Linked DNA regions of Homo sapiens: region 1 is linked to region 2. Evidence: promoter capture Hi-C in human tissues and cell types (Jung and others, 2019). All regions are on one chromosome and are shown on one strand. Each heading gives the region's core, a stretch centred on a gene start or on the middle of the fragment in contact. The rest is flanking DNA. Distances are from core to core; before and after follow the strand shown.

What was found. Contacts are between HindIII fragments. The study calls those that stand out against the background at their distance.
Region 1: a fragment that was not itself captured here is called in contact with the fragment with the promoter of GRM8 in region 2 in 1 of the 25 tissues and cell types used here (hippocampus).

What each region holds. Positions count from the first base shown.
Region 1 is chr7:126,693,037-126,699,481 of GRCh38, reverse strand. All of the region lies in intron 7 of GRM8 (glutamate metabotropic receptor 8), which reads left to right. Among named protein-coding and RNA genes, the nearest start is that of MIR592, 360 kb to the left of the region's middle. RefSeq lists an enhancer at 2,661-2,730. The HindIII fragment of the contact is 9,446 bases long and covers 1-6,445 here.
Region 2 is chr7:127,249,833-127,256,176 of GRCh38, reverse strand. GRM8 (glutamate metabotropic receptor 8) reads left to right here and starts at 3,236. Exons shown (of 11, transcript NM_000845.3): 1 at 3,236-3,380. RefSeq lists a silencer at 1,969-2,028 and an enhancer at 2,149-2,398. The HindIII fragment of the contact is 12,389 bases long and covers 1-6,344 here.

The DNA of each region.
Region 1 (6,445 bases), core at 2,197-4,696, 560 kb after region 2:
AAATCCTTAGGCATCTCATGAAATATCATGAATTTTCAATGTGCTTTAAATTTTACATTTTTGAAAGCAAGAGAATTTTCTTACATACTGCATCAGTCCAGCAGATAAAAACTAGCACAACAGAACTCTTATAAACTTATTTTTGTCGAATTCACTTCTTATAAAAGCAGTATAGTTACAATTGAGGGAAATAATGGAAAATGGCTTTGCTGTGAATTTTGATGGCTTTGTTGAATCTTTAAATCTAACCTCATTCCGTCTATCATTAGTCTTTTCCTTTCATGCCTTTGATGGCAATCGTGTTTTACAGATGAACCCATTAATTCACTGGGAGGTTAAGTGATTAGCTCTGCCTGGCAGTCAGGTGCAGGGTTAAGATTAGATAAAAGTCCCTCAGGGTCTAGTGATTGCTAAACTTTGAGGACAGTGACCCTCCTTATTATAAAACCAGACATTCAGAAATTATCTAACAGCTTCTTTCACCACATTCCAAAGAAAGTTTATTTACCTTTACAGAGAAAGTGCCTATGATGGTTTTAAAAGCCAGGTTGCTAGAAAGACACTTTCTCCTCAGAAGCTAATATAATTTAGAGAGAATTTCTTGAGAGAAATATAAATGTATTTCAATTTATGCATTGCCTACATAATTAATAATAAAGTAAGTATTTTTTTGGCTTGTTAATATTCCAGGCACCCCAACAAGCTCTATTGGGGTTACGAAGGTATGCAACTCTTAGAACCAACCCACACTGAGTCATTCATTGTTTTGTTGCTTCATTCATTCATGACAGACAATTCATTTATGACAGTTGTTAAATTTATGAAAAAATAGCTTGATTAGGAAAGGTTTCACGGTCTAGATTGTATCAGATGGATAAAATGTTAACAGGCACAGAAGTGTGAGTCATTCCAGGTATAGGAAATAACATGACAATCTCCCTCCTAAATAAATCTCTGTGGTAGAAAGACATAGTAACATTTAATGAGTAGCACACATGCACTGATATGCCTAGAGCATTTTGTAATATGTGGAAAGTAATTTTAATATAAGTTAAATATTTATAAAATACATATTTAAAAGATAAGCATCATTTTTTCTTCAATTTTGTGATTCATCTAGTTTTCTGTAAATGGTAGAAAATAGAACAATTCTATTATATTCCAATCCTTCCTCCACAACCCTCTCAATAAAATTATAACAAAGAACAAGCCACTACATAATTCCCCTTCCACTTACTGTAGAAGAAGAACAACTCTTAATATTAATTGTGAGGGTTTCACCAGAGTATTGTCTAATTAAAGATGACCAGAGAAGCGGCAGCCTCAGAGACTCCTTTAATTTGACATCCTGAATACGTAGCATGTTTAAGAGTAGTTCTCAGGGGTAGTTCCACAATCTATTCCATTTGTATAAACCTCCAGAACTTCACTGAGACAATAGGAGTATGTAAAGGAATAACTTGCTTCCATGAAGAACAAATATTTACTGCATTTGCTTGCATTGTTTCTCAACTTTTTAGTAAATATTTTATTTCTGAAATGAAAGAACTGTTTTGTGCAAAAATTCCTTCAAGATGCAGATTTCAGTGAACTTGGGGTTCCAGCCATTGCAGCCTTGAGTATAATTTCCACCTGAAGGTTGAAGAGATGTGAGCAACACTTAGGCACCCCTTCTATATTTTCAGCAAATAGTGTTTTTAATGCTTCTTTGTTCTTCCCTTGTTAAATCTTCAGATTAGTAACTGCTGATTAATGCCCCAAAGAGAAGGGATTACAGGCAGATAAGTATTGCATACTAATTTCCTTAAATTTGGGGATGGGCAGAAATATGGAAAGATGTGAGTAAATGTTATAAACATTTCAAAAGAAAAAAAAATGACCCACAATGGGGAGATGTGTTAATGTGTTGTCCAGGCAATAAAAGTGCATTACTTTCCTTCTTTTATTGTGTATATTTAAGGCATACAACATGATGCTTTGATAAATGTATATTACATATATATTTAGTGAAATATACTAAGGTCAAGCACATTAACATATCCATCATGTCACGTAATTACCTTCTTTTTTATTTTTTGGTGGTAACAGCACCTAAAATCTGCTGTCTTAGCCAGTTTCTAGTATATAATACAAAATTATTAGCTGTAGTCCTCATGCTGTACATTAGCTCTTGAGACTTACTTATTTCAGTTGTTTATGTAACTGCAACTTTGTACCCATTGACGTGCATTTCTCCATTCCCCATCCCCTCCTTGTCCCTGATAACCACTGTTGTACTATCTTTTTCTATGGGCTTGACTTTTTTTTTTTTTTTTTAATTCCACACATAAGTGAGAACATACAGTATTTGTCTTTCTGTGCCTGGCTTATTTCACTTAGCATAATGTCTTCCAGGTTTGTCCATTTTGTCACAAATTGCAGAATTTTCTTTTTTTTTTTAAAGGCTGAACAGTATTCTCTTTTGTATATATTATGCATTTTCTTTATCCATTCATCCCTTGAGGGACACTTAGGTTGCTTTCATATCTTGGCTATTGTGAATAGTGCTGCAACGAACATTGGCGTGCGGATATTTCTACAAGGTGCTGATTTCACTTCCTTTTGGGTGTATAACCAGAAGAGGGATTGCTGGGTCATATGGTTTCACTTCCTGGGTGGAAGCCCCCCAGTTTTGAAGGCCTGTATTCAGTAAACTGTCTACAATAATCCCATCTGAGCCTCCTTTTCTTCAGCCTCTGTCTGTCTTTGTTTTGGCATCTATCTTCTCTGATTTGTTCCTTCCCACGTCCCTTCTCCATTGCCAGTTCCTTTTAGCCTCAGCAAATAAACATGTTCCAGTTTCTTATTTCATGAGAGAAAAGTAAAAATAAATAAATAAAAACACAACCTTTAAACCTTCTGCCTCTCTCTCAGTAATAGTTCCTTAAAGAAAGGAGGCTTCCATGTGTTACCACTGCGTCATTATCCTCAGCAAACTAACACAGGAACAGAAAATCAAAGACCGCATGTTCTCACTTGTAAGTGGGAGCTGAACGATGAGAACAGATGGATACAGGGAGGGGAACAACACACACTGGGGCCTGTCAGGAGTAGGGGGCAGGGAAAGAGAGAGCATCAATATCAAATAGCTAATACATGCGGGGCTTAATACCTAGGTGATGGGTTGATAGGTGCAGCAAACCACCATGACAGACGTTTACCTGTGTAACAAACCTGCACATCCTACTTATGTATCCCAGACTTAAAATAAAATGCATTTTTTCAAAGAGTTTTTGTTTCTTAAATTTTGCATCCAATTCCATGCATCACTCACTTCACCCTAGTCCCAGCCCTGTGTATCCACTTGTGCATTTCACAGGTAACTCAAGCTATTTGTATTCTACCTTCAATCAAGCCTTCTTTCACACTGTTACTCCCTGCTTCTGTGAACGTCATCACATTTTACCTGGTTGTAAAAGCCAGAAAGCTGGGTTGCCTTCACCCTTTTCTTTATCCCTGTCTCTCCAACCTTATAATCAGTGATCATATGTTGCCTCTTATGGCTCTTTAATATCTTTCTTCAGAAACACTCTCTCTACTTAAGACCCTCCTCATTTCTTTCCTGAATGGCCAAGAATTGTCCTCTAACTATTCTTTTGTGCTAATGTGTCCCCCGCCCCATCCTTCTCTGTTTTTTACGTAATTGTGGCCAGAGAAATTTTTCTAAAATGCAAATCTGATCATACATCCTTGACTACTTAAAGTCTTTCAATACCTTTTTATTGGCTTAGCATAAAGTCCAAAATCCTTAGCAAGCCGAATAAAAACCTTAATCATCTGGACCTCCTAAGCCCTTCATTTTACTTAATTGTCACTGACCAATTAAGACCTTTGCTGAAATACTTGCAGGGAGGTAAATAGGTTATTTCTCACAGCATTGGGCCTTCTAATATGCTTTCTTCTGCCTGAGATTCTCTTCCTGTAAAACTCAATTCATAGGGCACATTATCCAGGAATTCTTCTTGATGTTTACAGTTTCAGCTAGGCAGTCATTCCATCTACTCCTTGTAATTCAGTACTTCCGTTTCATAGCTGATACTGTTTCCTGGTCAGCCTGGTCTCCATGCTATGAGCTATTTGGAAACAGGGACCATATATTTTAATCTTATGTCTCTAGTACATTATACAGTTCTTGGAAGAAAGTAGGTATTTCCAAATGATAGAAGATATCAGTATGGAATATTATTCTTTTCTCATTTTCTTCATAATAATAACAGAATTCCCTTTAAAAATGTTTTAATATATTACTAATTTAGTATTTTGATGGATCAAGATTTGGCTATCTGCCTAGAAATAGTTTTTCTCGAATATAGGCATCTCAGTCCCTCCCATCTCTATTCCTCCTCTGTTGGAAAAGCCACCCATCAATGCAATCCTAGTACAAACTGAGATGCTTAAAAATCATGATATTTTATTCCGAGGATATCTATGAGGCAAGACTGGGGATGCAGGGAAAGAGTAGTTTAACAACTGACAGGACCACTTACATTCTGTTTCTCCATTCTTAAGCTCAGACCCCCAGATACATGTTAGAATCAAGGCATGAGACCATTGTTGTTGGCCACATTAAATGCCTCTGGCTGGACTTGGAGCTGAACAAGAATTGCATGGACATCTAGTCCAGACAAGGAGCCTCAAGAGACAAACGTATCTCAAGGTTCTGACTGACCTAGACTAATATAATTTAATAGCAAATGCATGAAAGCGTCATTAAATGTAACTAGTTTTGCCTAAGCAGAACCCAGAGGAGAAATGTAGATCTAAAATAAGACTTAGTATATTTCAACACTCAAGAGCTTTCTTGATCACTTTAAGGCATGCTAACAATTTTCCATATGTATAACAGTTATAAGGCAATTAATGGAATATTTTGCAAATCAATTGCAAAAAAGAGAAGAAAAAAATTGAGTAAGTAACAGCTGAAGTAAAAAATGAAACTGCTATAAATATAGATAATAGCTTCCATTAAAAGTGTCTTCCAACATTGGAAAGTTTAATCACAGTTACACTCAAATCATTGGTTACACTCTATTTCACAGTTATCCAGCTTGGGAAAATCTATGCACTATTAAACATGATAGGTTCAATGTTTTTTATAATATCTGGTCAGCAGTGGAAAATTTTGTTAGCTAATTTCATTAACAAGTTTCAGTTTCATTTAATTCTAACAATAATAATTAAAAAGCAAGTACTATGTTTTAGATGGTGCATGTCTAATCTGTAGAGGGGGAGGAATTTTTCTAAATGTAGAGGAATTGAGTCAGAATCACATAGGGAAATATAAATAGACCTAACTATTTATATTTAGTTAATAAATATAACTATATATAGTTTAGTTTGTTTTCTTATAAATAAATAAGAAAAACATAGTTGGGAGAAATATTTGCCTCAAATATAAGAGAAACGTTTAATACGTTGAATATTTATAATGGTCATACAAATTTCTAATGACCTATCTTAAAAAATCTTAAAATAGCAATTTACAAAGGGCATATTCCAACAATTTATGAAAGAAACTACATTTGACTGATACATTTATGAAAATGATTAAGACTTAGATGTAATAAATGAAACATAACTTGAGACATATTTTTCATCTTTTGAAATAGAAAATACTTTGAGAAGAAATATTTTGGATTGATAAGAAGGCACAGAGATCAGACTACTATTTTATATGCCCAGCAAAAGATTAAACAAACTATAAAACAAAGAAAACTGTCTAGAAAATAATTCGGCAAAATATTTTCTTCTTGCTCTTTGGTTCAGAAACACTACTTCCAAGAATTTTACCCTAAGAAGTAATGTAAAACTTTTAGAAAAAGTATTTGTACCTATTTTAAAAGCTTTTTATGTTAGAAAACAAAGGATATATAAATGTCAATAGATTGGAATATAATACAGGCATTAATATTGTTGCTTATAATAATTTAACAAAATGAGACCATGCTAATACACATAAACTGCAAAGCACCTACATGCTGTAATGTATTGTACTTATATACACCAAAACACTGAAAGAAGAATGCTAATTCATTACAATGATCATCTGTGGTTGCCAGTCTTATTGTTAATTATTATTGTTTTCTTGTATTTTTAAAATATATTTTTGATTTTTCATAAGGAGCATTTATTATTTTCATAATCAGAAAAAAGCATTTCTAATAAAAGAAATTTGGTTGGAAATGTATCACAAAGGAATAATAATGTTAGTATAACACTGCCTATTACCCACTAACCTCAAGCAAATTAGTAGATTCTTTGTACCCATGTTGACAATTTGGTTTCCCGTCTTGCCATTTGTTATTCCAGTGAATGACTGCTGTGATCTTTAGAGGAGGTGACATATCCAGTTAATCTTAGTGAAGTTTGAGGCGATTAGTTTGTTATTCACTCTTCCAGCCAACTT
Region 2 (6,344 bases), core at 1,987-4,486:
TTCTAACACATGGGCAGTTTCTCACATTTTAAATCAACTGAAAATGAGAAGATTATAGGCAAATCTTCCTGGAGGATTAACTACTAGGAAATATACTTGGTTTGAATAAACATTTGGGGTGGGATGGAGGATGAGGTCAGACACTTTCCAAAGACACAGTGTGTATTGCAGAGGGTGGGATCCCAAGGGGAGGCAAGGTGGATGACTCTAGAATAAGCTGCATGTCTGGACGGCCTGGTCTTCAGACACTCTCCCCTGACTCAGATTGCAGCAATGAGCAAGCAGCATCATGGTGTTTGGCCCTGACGAATAGAGGTTGTACAGCCAATAACTTTTTCCTGTGAATGTTACTGATAAGGACCAGTCCCTCCTGGAGACAATCTTTCTTCCTGTGTCCCAGTGTTGCTATCAGTCTGGGCGAATTATAACCTGTACATGGGCAAATTATAACCTGTACAGAAGGCTGTGTCACTTGCTCAGGGGCTACTAGATAAAGCCATTGGAAACACTGAAGAATATATAGAAGGGCTCTATTTCTTATTGACCAGATTCCATGTAGGATTTGAGTGATGGTTCTATTTTGAGTATCAAGAGTTAAAGATGATGCAAAACGAAGCATCGGACTTGCACTTTCCTTAGGAGAGATCAAGTCTAGTTTTCTCGCAGAAGGCTGCACCAAAAAGGGCAGCGATGTGCCTGTAAGACATCAGTTCTCTGCAGGTAATGATCAATAGGGAAAGGAGAAAGGCAGCTCATTAGGCATTTCTTCCCCAAGAGGCTCACTCGGCCTCCTTAGGCTTCCAAAGCCACAGCCAGCCTTATTGCCCTTATTATTAAAATGGGCCCACTAGAGCACCAGGCTGCTGCCCTCTTGGCTCATGCCAGGCAACGACCCAACTGGCCCTGCAGCTGGCCTCTAGCCTACCCTGAAGACGATGTGTGGTCAGCAGTTGTCGATGCCCAACGTATTTGCGGGCCTCCTCTGCCTTTCCCCTCCGTCGTGTCTCTTTTCCCCTCAAATTTATCAATGCACACGTAGTAAATGGTCTAAAACGGACTTATTCATACCTCTACGTTATCTGTGATATCATTGCTCAGACCGGGATCATGGGTCTGGAGTTTGGGGTGGAGTGGGCTTCCTGCTATAGAAATCAGGCCACTGCACTTACTTTACACTTCTGGGGGAGGAGGGATCTCTTCCAGTCCCTAAGAAAAGAAAATCTTTAAAGCGTCTTACACGCAGGCGTGCAACCAGGAAGTCCACCCAGCCCCATCTCCGCATAAATTAGGAGCTCTTCCCTCTTCCCACCTTCCTTGTCCCAAGTGGCACCGGACACTGATCACCCTCTTCAGAGCTGCACTAGACATTCACAGGGAATTGAGGTTCCCTATGCAGAAAGGTTTTCAGACAGAGGACCCAGCCCATTTTCTCTCTCCAAATCCTCCTCCCTCCCTCTTTTGTGGTTGCAGCTATAAAATAATGATTCAACAATCAAAGAGCCTCTCATGAGATGGGAGAAGGAAGGGAACGAAAGGGGAAGAGGTGCCCTGGGCTGAAAACCTGTAGATTTTTTCTAAGTGACAAAGGGCAAGGGTCCTTTTTTGAAATTAGGAGAGAGACAGCTGTTTCCTCAATCGAAACTTCGCACATTACAACCAGCCTTGGGAAAAGCCAACACCACCAGGGAGGAAGTGCTATGGGGTTTTGAAGCCAGACACTGATTTCTGGCTGTAATACTTTCCAGCCGTGTCTCTAAGCCTCGGCTTCTGCCTCCATCTGTAGAGTGGGCTTAATAATTTTGACCATCTCACAGAGTTGATGTGAAAATTAAAATAACCCGAACAGAACAGGCGATATATACAGGAATTAATGAAAGATTCCTGACATAATGCTTATAAGTTCATGATGCTTAGGAAGATAAAATTCATTGTAGAGATGCCGAACGGGGGTCTAGAGCTTGCCTTTTCGGGGTCTCTCCCGTCCTTCTCCATCCTCCTTATCTCCTGGGCTGCCCCCTCTCCCCCCGCGCCCCGCTCTCCCTGGCTCGCCCGGGCCTAGGGCGCCGCCTGCAGTTGCGCGCGGCCGCCTCTAGATGGAACTTTCTCACCAACGCAAGGCCCGGCCGGAGCAGCTACCCGGGAGCTGGGCGGCGAGGGGCTACTTTCTCTCATTCCGGCGGGTGCAGGATCGGGGGGCCTGGGCAGTAACTAGTGGGGAGGAGCGCTGGACTGTGCACGTCGAGCCCGGCAGGTTTCCGCATGCGGCATGCGAAGGGAATCCCGAGGTTTCCCTGCAGAACCCGAGCACGGCTCCCCCGGAGTTTCCTGCCCCGCGTCTGCGGCTCCTTGAATCATCTCAATAAAATGACCGTCCCGGTAGCCACCCATGCCCCTTCCTGCGCAGTGCCCGCAGCGGACCGCGCTGTGTGGTACCTCGAGCCCTGGGGACTCTGTTGCACGCGTCCCTCAGACCCTCGGGGGCGGGGAGTGGGGAGACAATCGCCAGAGCCGCGGGGCGGGACAAATGGCGGAACCGCCGCGCGGCGCCAGGCAAACTTTGCAAGGGAACCGCGCGGCTTGCCGGCTCTACTTTAAGCATTCCCGAAAAGAAAGCATGTGGCGGGACACTTGTCATCTACCATGTGTTATTCTCGGTGACGCTTTCTGGAGCTGTGTTCACCGGGGACCCGGGCTCGCGGGTGCTGCCCGCTGTGCTCGGGCGGGCGTCGCGCCTCCCCGCGCCGGTCCCGGGCTCGCCAGGCAGCCGGAGCCGCTGGGCTCCTCCACAACCATATTCCTTCTTCTACCGCTCCCGCTTCTTCCCACCCTCTCACTCTGTAGTTGGGTCCTCCCCTTTTTCTTGGGGGCGGGGAAGGGGGGATGATTTTTAAAAATCAGAACTATTGACATTTCTGGTCTCCTCGTCGCTTCAGGCTGAAGAGCGGAGGGGGATCCGCGGGCCGAGGGTCCCCCTCCCTGCCCGCGCCAGGGCCGCTGGGTGACACCGAAATCCAGAGGCTCCCGCCCCTCGGGGGTTCCTCCTCCCGCTTCCCGAGGTGACTGGTTGGCGCGAAGCGATTGGCGATCCCGGGCGCGATCCTGGCCGCGGCTCCCCGCGCCGCGCCGGGTGAATGGCCGCGGGCGGAGGATCGGGAGGCGCCGGGCGCAGACCAATCGCGGCCGCCGGTGGGAGTATTTGTTATTCACATGGAAGAGACTTGGCGCCTGCTAGGCCAGCTCAGCCCCCTCAGCCCAGAGATCAGCCACAAGTGCGGCCGCTGTGCTCGCCTCACGCGGCGGCGGCGGCGGCGGCGGCGGCGCTGACATGGAGCTGCGGGCCCCCGGCGGGCTTCCTCACCGCGCCCTCTGCGGGGAGCAGGGTAAGACTCGCCGCCCGGCAGCAGAAAGCGGCTCCGAGGAAAGCAAGTGCCGAACCACGGGACAAAAAGCCCCTGGCCCCCAAACTTCCCCAAAACGCCCTGCTTGTTGGAAAAGGAGAATCCCCCCGTTTTATTCCCCTTTCCGTTTTCTTCTCTAAAACCTTTCAGCGGACAGCCAGGTGCACCATTCCTTCTCATATCACTCTAGTGATTTGTTTTTCCTGAGCACAAGTAGATGGCCCTGCATGTCCGTAGTCTGTGAGAGAAATAGCGGGCGGAGGTGACGGGAATGGGGGGAGAAGGAGAGTGGGCACCAGGGGGCGAGGGGCTGGCCGGGCATTGGAGCTTGATTGGGTGTCTGTTGATTTTACGTTGCAAAGAACAAGGCAGCCACCCCTCTTGTCTGCCCATGATTACATTACAGTAAAGAGGTTCAGAAAAGAGGGAGACTTTACCCGGAACTCCCAAGGCTTGGAGATGTGATCCCCCAAAAGTTTAGTCGGCGAATGGGAGACTGAAGGGTGACGGGAAGGGGGCAGGCGCGCTCGGCGCTCTGACTGGGCGTGCGGCGGCAGGATTTTAAAGCGCTCTGCCTCGGATCGTCTGCCCTGGGTGACCTCCCGGACCTGCCCTGGTGGAATCCGGACTTGCCCCGCCGAGATGACGAGGTACCTTCGTTTCGCGAACCTAACAGGAGGGATTTCTGAAGTTAGCGGCTTCCGGGATGAGTCGGGGTAACCCCCGCCCTCTGAGCGTGGGCTGGATGGATGTCTAACCAGGATCTAGGGAGGATGGGGGTCGCGGGGGAAGCCGGGCGCTTCGGGGTCCTCGACACCCACATCCCCGCACGGCGCACGCTCTGCCTCGAGTTTGCGTTCTCCGAGTTAGCACGGCGAGCTTGGGATTTCCGTGCCCCTCTTTTGTGGCTTTCGAGAAACGCCGGAGTTCCGTGTCCTGCTGGGGGTTGGGGGGATGGAGAAAAGGTCTCGGGGATCTTGTTTAAAAAGCAAAGGCAAACGCACCCCAACAGCTCCTCGGTAGCTCCCGCGGCTGGCGCGGCCCCAGTTTCGGGCGGCCCCGCGCGGGGCGTGGGCGCGGGCGCTCGGGCGGCCAGGTGCGGCGGGGGCGGAGGCTGCATCCCCAGCGCGCCGGAATGCCCCGGGGCGCGGGAAAGGCAAAAGCAGCCTGGCGCTCTCCCCACGGCCCCAGTCTCTATCTACCCAGAACCCGGCTTCAACAGCCCAAGGAACTGAGAAGAAAAAGGAACCTGCGCTGGGAAACAGGGGCTCCTGGCGGGCTGAGTGGTCGCTGTTATGGTAGAGATAGAAACGGAGAGGTAGAGATGGACCGCTCAGCCATGCCAAGCGCGAAGCCCATCCGCCCAGCCAGAAAGCTCGGATATCCCTTGAGCTTCGTACAGTTGGTGAAAAAATAACAGAATCACCAAAAAAGAAAAAAAAATTCCCTTCGTCTGACACGCGCTCCCTTGGTGCAAATGAAATGCGGAGGGACACGCGAGTCACCCAGTTGCGCAAAACCGCACCCCCGCGGTTCCCTGGGGAATTACTTCCCCCGTGGCCCAAACTGTGAAGCCTGGTGTCAGAGAGTGTCTGCGCACCCAAGATAGCGGGGGTGAAAACAGACCCCCTCGCCGGTTGCAGAAACCCTTAAGTCCCCTAAGCAAGTCCCACCCCGGGAGGGAGTGCCTTATTTGCCATTTGGGGGATCCTTTCCCACAAACCTGAAGGTGCGGGAGTCTCTGGAACACCCAAGAATACACTAGAGTCTGGGCTACTACCGCGATTGAATACAAATCCTGCCAACTGACAGAACTGGAAAACAGGGTTGGTGGTGGAGATACAAGAAAAATCATGAACGGGAGAAAAGCATTCCTATGGTAGCTTGTATTTTGCTTGAAAGAAAAATAGAGAAAAAGAGCCACCAGCAGGTAGATCGTGGATAAACAGCTTATTGCACTTGCCTGTAATTTCCACTTTCCGTTATGAAATTGTTTGTCAATAATTGCAAATGGCTACAGAAACCACTTTAGTTTACCTTGGTCACTTGCTTGTGAATAATACCGTGAAAGATCTCTGTAGGAGGCAGAATCAGCTGTGTGCAATTCATTCTCTGGTTCTTGAAAACGTGTGGCTTGATAATTTTGAAAAGAAAAGCTTCCTCCGTCAGGGAAAATGAACCAAGGTTTTTTAAAATGCAATTTTTCCATTTTAGAGTCAACTACAGGTTGTACCATGTCTAAGATAGAGAATTCTTGCTTTTGAATAAGGGATGTGGGGAGAAATAGATGACGGGAGGCTTTGTAGGAGACAATTGACCCGGAATAAAGAAGAAGATACTGAGAACACAGCTGTATACTGTTCCTTAGGCTCAATTTGTTCTGTTTGGATTGTGCTAGCTAGTTCTGCCCTGTTATGCACCGTTCGAAAGTTATGGCTGCTTGAATAATTCTAAAAACATCTACATCCAAAAGGAATAGAGAAAAGGAAGAGCTGAGCTCCAGTGAGTGCAGGAGAAAGTTAGAGGTCTGGAGAGATGTGCTCTTTTCAAAGTTGGCTGAGCAGGTTGAAGCTGCTGCGGGGCTTGTTTAATTGGTATTTATGCAGCAAATAACCCGTCTGACATTCACATTGGCAATTGCGTGCCAATCTTTGTGTATGAATGTTCCATTGTCTTCAGGGCACGATGTACAGCACACTACACACATGTTTTTTTCCTTCCAAGTTTCCTTCCTACCACCTTTCTCAGGTAGTTAGAATGCCCATCATAAAGATGACCTTGCTTTAGTTGGGGGGAGTGGAGTTGCTCTGTCCCAGTGTCTTAAAAGAAGATGCTGCTTGAATTTCTCTCTTCCTGGACCCACAGCCAAGACCTGGCCACATCTCCATGTCTGTCAAGTTGGCTGGCTTGCGGAGGTTCAGGAAACTTGCTGTTTTCTTGATAGAC